Regions from separate parts of the Homo sapiens genome. Here region 1 is linked to region 2. The links are contacts of gene promoters, found by promoter capture Hi-C in human tissues and cell types (Jung and others, 2019). All regions are on one chromosome and are shown on one strand. Each heading gives the region's core, a stretch centred on a gene start or on the middle of the fragment in contact. The rest is flanking DNA. Distances are from core to core; before and after follow the strand shown.

Region 1 (3,791 bases), core at 502-3,001, 330 kb before region 2:
CTTTCAGCTTCTCCAAGAGACCCTCCCTGGCCACCCCACAGTGGTCACCCTTAGTTACTCTCTATTGTCAAAGCCGGAATCCCCACCTGTTATCCTGTCTCACTCGTCATTGTCAATCTCCCTCCATCCTTGCTTCCCACGACAGAATATATCTTCCTAATGAGGGTAACGACCAGCCCTGGGCCCGGCAACCATTTAGGTCTGGAGCCTGGCACATAAAAGGCCCTTACAGAAGCAGATGAGAGGGTAAAGTCTGAGGAAGGAGGCCAGGCATGAAGGCTCACGCTTGCAATCCCAGCACTTTGGGAGGCTGAGGTGGGAGGATTGCTTGAGCCCTGCCATTGGAGACCAGTCTGGCCAACATAGTGAGACCCTGTCTCTACAAAAAATAAAATAAACTAGCTGGGTGTGGTGGTGTATGCCTGTAGTCCCAGCCACTCAGGAAGCTGAGGCAGGAGGATCACTTGAGCCCAGGAGGTTGAGGCTGCAGTCAGCTATGATTATGCTACTGCACTCCAGCCTGGGCAACAGAGCAAGACCCTGTCTCAAAAAAAGAAAAGAAAAGATCAAGTAAGGAGAACAGGAGATACACATTATTCCGGAATAAACCAGTCATGTCTACTCAAGAGCAGCCCCTAAGTCTCTCCTCCAGGATCCCTCTTCATCCTCTCATGACCTCATGCTCTAACTCAGGGCCCAGCAAACTGTCTCTCTAAAGGGCATGCTGGTCTCTGTCCCAACTACTCAGCTCTGCCATTTCAGGGACACCATAGATAACACAGAAGCCAAAGACCGTGGCTGCATTCCAATAAAACTTTATTTATGGACATGGACATTTGACTTTCATATTACTTTTCTTTTCTTTTGCTTTTTTTTTTTTTTTTTTTTGAGCTGGAGTCTCGCTCTGTTGCCCAGGCTGGAGTGCAGTGGCGTGATCTTGGCTCACTGCACGCTCCACCTCCCAGGTTCACACCATTGTCCTGCCTCAGTCTCCCATGTAGCTGGGACTACAGGCGCCCGCCACCACACCCGCCTAATTTTTTGCATTTTTAGTAGAGAAGGGATTTCATCGTGTTAGCCAGGATGGTCTCGATCTCCTGACCTCGTGATCCGCCCACCTCGGCCTCCCAAAGTGCTAGGATTATGGGCGTGAGCCACCAAGCCTGGCCTTTTTTTTTTTTTTGAGACAGAGTCTCACTCTGTTACCCAGGCTGGAATGCATTAACGTGATCTCGGCTCACTGCAACTTCTGCCTCCTGGGTTCAAGCAATTCTCATGTCTCAACCTCCCAAGTAGCTGGGATTACAGGCATGTGCCACCACACCCGGCTAATTTTTGTATTTTAGTAGAGATGGGTTTCATGTTGGCCAGGCTGGTCTTGAACTCCTGACCTTAGATGATCTGCCCACTTTGGCCTCCCAAAGTGCTGGGATTACAGATATGAGCCACCATGCCCGGCCTCATATGACTTTTCATATGTCATATAATATTGATTCCATTTTCCTCCAACTATTTACAAATGTAAAAAAACGATTTTAGCTGGAGGAGTTGTGCGGATACAGATGGCAGGTTGGACTTGGCCCTCAGACTGTAGTTTGCTCTCCGCTGCCTTCTCACAGTCTTTATTTTCTCATAAGTAGGTGCTTTTTTTTTTTTTTTTTTTTTTTTTTTTGAGATGGAATCTCACTGTTTCGTCCAGGCTGGAGTGCAGAGGCGTGATCTTGGCTCACTGCATCCTCCGCCTCCCAGGTTCAAGCTATTCTCCTGCCTCAGCCTCTTGAATAGCTAGGATTACAGGCACGCGCCATCACGCCTGGCTAATTTTTGTATTTTTAGTAGAGATGAGGTTTCACCATGTTGGCCAGGCTGGTCTCGAACTCCTGACCTCAAGTGATCTGCTTGCCTCGGCCTCCCAAAGTGCTGGGATTACACGTGTGAGCCACCAGCTGTATTTTTCAATCTGTTAAATTAAATGTGCTGATACTCATGGCATGTAATAAGCTCTCAAGAAGTGTTTAAAAAAATAAAACTCAAAATATATAAATAAAGCTCCTCAACTCAGCAATGAGCCTCTCAAGGGTAAGTATATTCTTGTTGGTATGAATAGCAGCTGATATTTATAGGGTGTTTTACTGTGTGCTGAAGACAAAGCAATATAATGTCCCACTCCTCAGGGGTTGCTGTTGCTGTTTTCAGGTATTTACCTCCATAGTTCCAAGTAATGTGTTTTACACATCCCTTGATTTATCAGTTGGATGTTGTCCATTGACTTCCTATTCCAGAAGGTCAAGATTTAGCTCTCTTAGGCATTCTGCTCCCCCAACAGTTAAATCACAATTTTTGCTTAAATGAAAATTCAGTGCTTATAGTATATATATTAATATAAATATTATTGACAGTGGAGCAATGTATACTAAGAACATTATTTTCTGGGACCTGCTTTTTTATTTCCCTGGAGTTAGTCATCGCCTTGGTTTTATGTGTCTGTGACTCTTTCCCCCAGCCTCTCCACCAGAACTGACATCTCCACTCAGGACTTTCTCCTACTGCCCAGCTGTGATCCTGGCCCCTCTCTTCTTCGGCACAAGGGGATTCTTAGATATAGCTCCTGTTTCTTGGGTGTGGGTCTCCCTGTTTCTTGGTTTGGTCCCTTGTTTTAGGAATGTGCTCCCCCTAGGGTTTCCAGAGAAAGTGTTTTCCTCCTACTCTCCTGGGTAATTAGAGGTTTGGCTGACAGTATTGTAGGTGGATACTTTTCTTTTGCCCAATGTTTTCCAGCTTCTAGTCTTGGGCAGCTGAATGATCAGAAGTTGTCCTGTTTCCTCATACTTTGCCTGTCCCATGGTTAATTTCTGTCTCTCTCTCTCTCTTTCTGGAAGCTTGTAGAATCTTCTTGTTCCCTACATCCTGCACTTTCACAGTGGTGGGTTTGGTGTGGGTCTGTTTTCAACCATTGTGCTGAGTACTTGGTGGGCTCTTTCCTGTGTTCTCTTCCTGGCAAACTTTCTTGAATGATATCATTGGTGATTTCTTCCACTTTGGTTTCTCTGGCGTGTTTGTGGAACACGTTATTGTCATAGGGTGGACTTCTTGGATTGATGTTTTCATTTTCTTGCCTACCTTCCCCCCCACCCCCCCACTTTCTACTTTTTCTTCCAACCCTTCTATTGACATTTTAATTTTGACTATTAATTTTTTTTTTTTTTTGAGACAGGGTCTCACTCTGTTGCTCAGGCTGGAGTGCAGTGGTGCAATCACAGCCCACTGCAGCCTCGACCTCCTGGGCTCAAGTGATCCTCCTGCCTCAGCCTCCCAAGTAGCTGGGACTACAGGTGCCTGCCACCATGCTGGCTAATTTTTTTGATTTTTAGTCTCACTATGTTTCCCAGGCTGGTTTCAAACTCCTGAGCTCAAACAATCTGCCTGCCTCAGCCTCCTGGAGTGTTGGGATTACAGGCATGCACCACCACACCCAGTGACTGTCAGAGTTTTAATTTCCAAGAGCTCTTTCTGGTTCTTTTACCGTTCCTCTTTAAAGGACAAACTTGGCTGTGTGTGGTGGCTCACGGAGCTCAGGAGTTTGAGACCAGCCTGGGCAACATAGTGAGACCCCAATCTCCAAATAATATGTAAATAAATAAAAGAATTTCTTGGCCCAGTGCAGTGGCTCACACCTGTAATCCCAGCACTTTAGGAGTCTGAGGCTGATGGGTCACCAGAGGTCAGGAGTTCGAGACCAGGCTGGCCAACATGGTGAAACCCCATCTCTACTAAATATACAAAAATTAGCC
Region 2 (3,996 bases), core at 1,122-3,621:
CCGCTAAAGCCCCCCCATGTCCTGACACCCCTAAGACACCCCCTTGTCCTCAGATACCCCAGAACTCCCACCCTGACCCCCCCAAAGTCCCCCGATCCTGACCTTTCTAGGGTCTCCCACCCCATCGTGACCCCCTAGGACACCCCTCTCCCACATCCTGACCCTTCTGGGAGCCCCCTGTCCTCCCCTCTCTTCCCTTTTCCCTGGTTGTCTATGGACCTCCTCACCCCATCCTCTCCCCTAAGGGACCCCCCTGCCCCACCTTGGCACCCTAGGTGCCCTCTTCATCCCATGCCAACCTCATTACTCAGGGACTCATTCCCCAAAAGGACCGCTCCCCGCCCCCCCAAGACCTCTCAGCCTGTCCTCCCCACCCAGGTGCTGCACTCTCAACCTGTGGCTCAGGCACCCTCCCACCCCATCTCTCCCCCATAGGAACCCTCCCACCCCATCTCTCCCCCATAGGGACCCTCCCACCCCATCTCTCCCCCATAGGGACCCTCCCACCCCATCTCTCCCCCATAGGGACCCTCCCACCCCATCTCTCCCCCACAGGGACCCCCTCACCCCATCTCTCCCCCATAGGGACCCCCTCACCCCATCTCTCCCCCATAGGGACCCTCCCACCCCATCTCTCCCCCATAGGGACCCCCTCACCCCATCTCTCCCCCATAGGAACCCTCCCACCCCATCTTTCCCCCATAGGGACCCCCTCACCCCATCTCTCCCCCAAGGGACTCGCTTCACTATCATTTCAATATGCAGAACACCCCTTGCCTATCCTTCCCCCACAGGCCCCCACCGACACATCCTCTCCTCCCAGGGACCCCCTCAACCCCATCTCACAATTCAGGGGCCCTGCACCCCATCTTCTCTCTGCAAGGACATCTCCTTGGCCTGATCTCACGACTTAGGGATTCCAAACCCCATCTTTTCCCCAAAGGGATCTCCCCTCACTCCAATCTCATTACTCAGGGACCCCACCATCTCCCCGATTTCACTATTCAGGGACCGTTCACCCCATTTCACTACTCAGAGACCTACCACCATTCTGCTACTCAGTGACTCCATGCCCTGTCTTTTCCCACAGGGACCTCCCTTGGCCCTATCTCATTATTGAGGGACCCTTACCCCGTCTTTTCCTACCAGGGACCCTACCCCATCTCAGTCTCATTACTCAGGGACCCCTCACCCCATCCTCTCCCCTCTGGAGCCCCCTTGCCCAGATTTCCTCCTCAGGGGCTGCCTGACCTCCCCACACCCCATCCTCTCCTCTCAGGAATGCCCTGCACCCCGATTTCCCTACTCAGGGTCTCCCCTCACCCTCATCTCATGACTACGGCAACCTTTACTCCGTCCTTTCCTCTTAGGAACTCTTCACCCTCATTTCACTACTCAAGGACCCCACACTGTGTTCTCTCCTCTTAGAGATACCCCTCACCCCGATCTCACTGCTTGGGGAGCCTCATCCTGTTCTCTCCTTGGGGACACCCCTCATTCCGATTTTCCTACTGAGGGACTCCCCTCACCCCAGCTTCACTTTTCAGAAGCCCCACACCCCATCTTCTGCACTGCAGGGACCTCCCCTCACTCAACCTCGCTGCTCAGGGACCCCTGTCCCCATCCTCTCCTCTTAGAGACATCCTTCACCCCAACTTCACTACTCAGAGACTCCCGTTATCCCAATTCCACTCTTCAGGAACCCCACACCCCATCTTTTCCACCACAAGGACCTCCCCTCGCCCAATCTCACTGCTCAAAGACCCCCCTGCCCCGTGCACCCTTCGCCCCGTCCTCCGAGGGCCCCCTGCCCCGTCCTCCCCCGAGGGCCCCCTGCCCCGTCCTCCCCCGAGGGTCCCCTGCCCTGTCCTCCCCTCGAGAACCCCCTGCCCCGTGCACCACTCACCCCGTCCTCCCCCGTGACCCCCCTGCCTCGTGCACTCCTCGCGAACCCCCGTCCCCTCGCCCCGTCCTTCCCCGAGGGCTCCCTGCCCCGTGCACCCCAAGCCTCCGGCTGACCCCTGCCCACTCACTCGGAGGCGCCCTCGCTGGTAGGGGATGGGCCCTCGGCGATGGTAGGGTTGATGGTGAGCGCCGGCAGCACCGGCTTCCTCCGGGCCAGCATCGGGGCTCCGCGGGCCGGCGGCGGCGGCGCCTCTAGCCGGGGCCCATAGGGGGCGGGCCGGGAGCGGTCGGCGCCTACGCGAGCCCGGGGCTGCGGCCGCGGCCCAGGCCGGCGTCGGGGCGGCCGAGGGCGGGCGGCGCTGCGGGCCTGGGCCGAGGGTAGCCGAGGGGCGCTGGGGCTGAGGCGAGCGAGCCGCTACCGCTGCCGAGGCCCGAAGAAGGCTGACGCCGCAGCCCGAGTCCGAGAGGCAGGGGGAGGGGAGGGGCGGCCACAAGATCGCGGACCGGCTTCTCGCGATAACGGGATCGGGAGCCGCGATGGACCCCACCCCCAGCCGCCGCGCCTGCGCAGCAGCACAAGGCCGCCTTTCGGAGGGGAAAGGGGCGGAGACCGACGCGAGGCGGTGCCGGGACCGGGCGCCCTCGCTTGCCTTACCACGGCGCGTGTGCCCAAGCGCTTGGGGCATGAGGCGCGGGAGCAGGGGAGGAGACGGAGGGATGAAGGCTGGGGTGATGGTCGTGCACAGGTGGGCAGGGTAGCCAGACTCCTGAGAGCCTGTGGTGCCCCAGGCTGGGGCTGAGAGAACCCGTAAGACCCCAGAACAGTGGACGAGACCCACCCAGAGTCCATTTAATCTTTTTGGCAAGCGTGGACACACGCCCCTAGCCCCCACCGCCTTAGAGTGTCAGTTACTCCCCCTCCTTCATCAGAACAAGGCCACTCTAAAACATTTTTAAAATTTATTTTAATTGACAAATAAAATTGCATATATTACTATGCGCATGTTGAAACATTTTTATTATAAAATACACATAACATAAAACTTGTCATTTTAACCATTTCTAAATGCACAGCTCAGCGGCATTAAGCAACCACCACCACCACCATCTCCAGAATTTTCTCATCTTCCGAAACTGAAACACTGTCCCCTATGAAACCTCACTCCCTATCCCCCTCCCCAGCCCCTGGAACCCAACGTCGTACTTCCTGTGAATCTGATGATTCTAGGGACTTCATATGAGTAGGATCACACAGGTTTTGTCCCTTTGTGGCTGGCATATTTCACTGAGGGCCACGTCCTCAAGGTGCCTGTTGTAGCTGTGTTAGATCCACGTTGTAACCTGTGTTAGAATTTACCCACTTGACTACTCCGGGCATACTTCCAATCGGGTAGCCCTGCTCCAAAAAAGAGCAGAAAAAAAAAAAAAAAGAAAAATTTCCCTTTTTTTTTTTTTGAGACGGAGTCTCGCTCTGTCACCCAGGCTGGAGTGCAGTGGTGCGATCTCGGCCCACTGCAAACTCTGCCTCCCGGGTTCACGCCATTCTCCTGCCTCAGCCTCCCGAGTAGCTGGGACTACAGGTGCCCACCACCATGCCCGGCTAATTTTTTTGTATTTTTAGTAGAGACGGGGTTTCACCGTGTTAGCCAGGATGGTCTCCATCTCCTGACCTCGTGATCCACCCGCCTCGATCTCCCAAAGTGCTGGGATTACAGGCGTGAGCCACCGCACCCAGTCAGGATTTTCCTCCTTTTTAAGGCTGAATAATATTCTATTGTGTGCATGGACTATATTTTGCTTATCCATTTATCTGCCACTAGACACTTCGGTGAATCGTGCCGCTATGAACACAGATGTACAAATATCTGTTTGAGTCCTTGCCTTGAGTTCTTTTGGGTATATGTTCTGAAGAGGAATTACTGGATTATATGGTAATTCTATGTTGAACTTTTTGAAGCACCACCTTACTATTTAATACAATAGCCGTACCACTTTATAAGAAAGGTCATAGGCTGGGCGCGGTGGCTCACGCCTGTAATCCCAGCACTTTGGGAGGTCGAGGCGGGTGGATCACCTGAGGTCAGGAGTTGA

The links. The method cuts DNA at HindIII sites, captures the fragments that hold promoters and counts their contacts. A contact is called where the count stands out against the background at its distance.
Region 1: a fragment that was not itself captured here is called in contact with the fragment with the promoter of MAP2K2 in region 2 in 1 of the 25 tissues and cell types used here (dorsolateral prefrontal cortex).

The regions. Positions count from the first base shown.
Region 1 is chr19:3,794,108-3,797,898 of GRCh38, forward strand. It overlaps a transcript of MATK not described here. Among named protein-coding and RNA genes, the nearest start is that of MATK, 9.6 kb to the left of the region's middle. The HindIII fragment of the contact is 4,542 bases long and covers 1-3,791 here.
Region 2 is chr19:4,121,751-4,125,746 of GRCh38, forward strand. MAP2K2 (mitogen-activated protein kinase kinase 2) reads right to left here and starts at 2,372. Exons shown (of 11, transcript NM_030662.4): 1 at 2,034-2,372. The coding sequence starts at 2,125. RefSeq lists silencers at 1,965-2,214, 2,405-2,524. The HindIII fragment of the contact is 9,633 bases long and covers 1-3,996 here.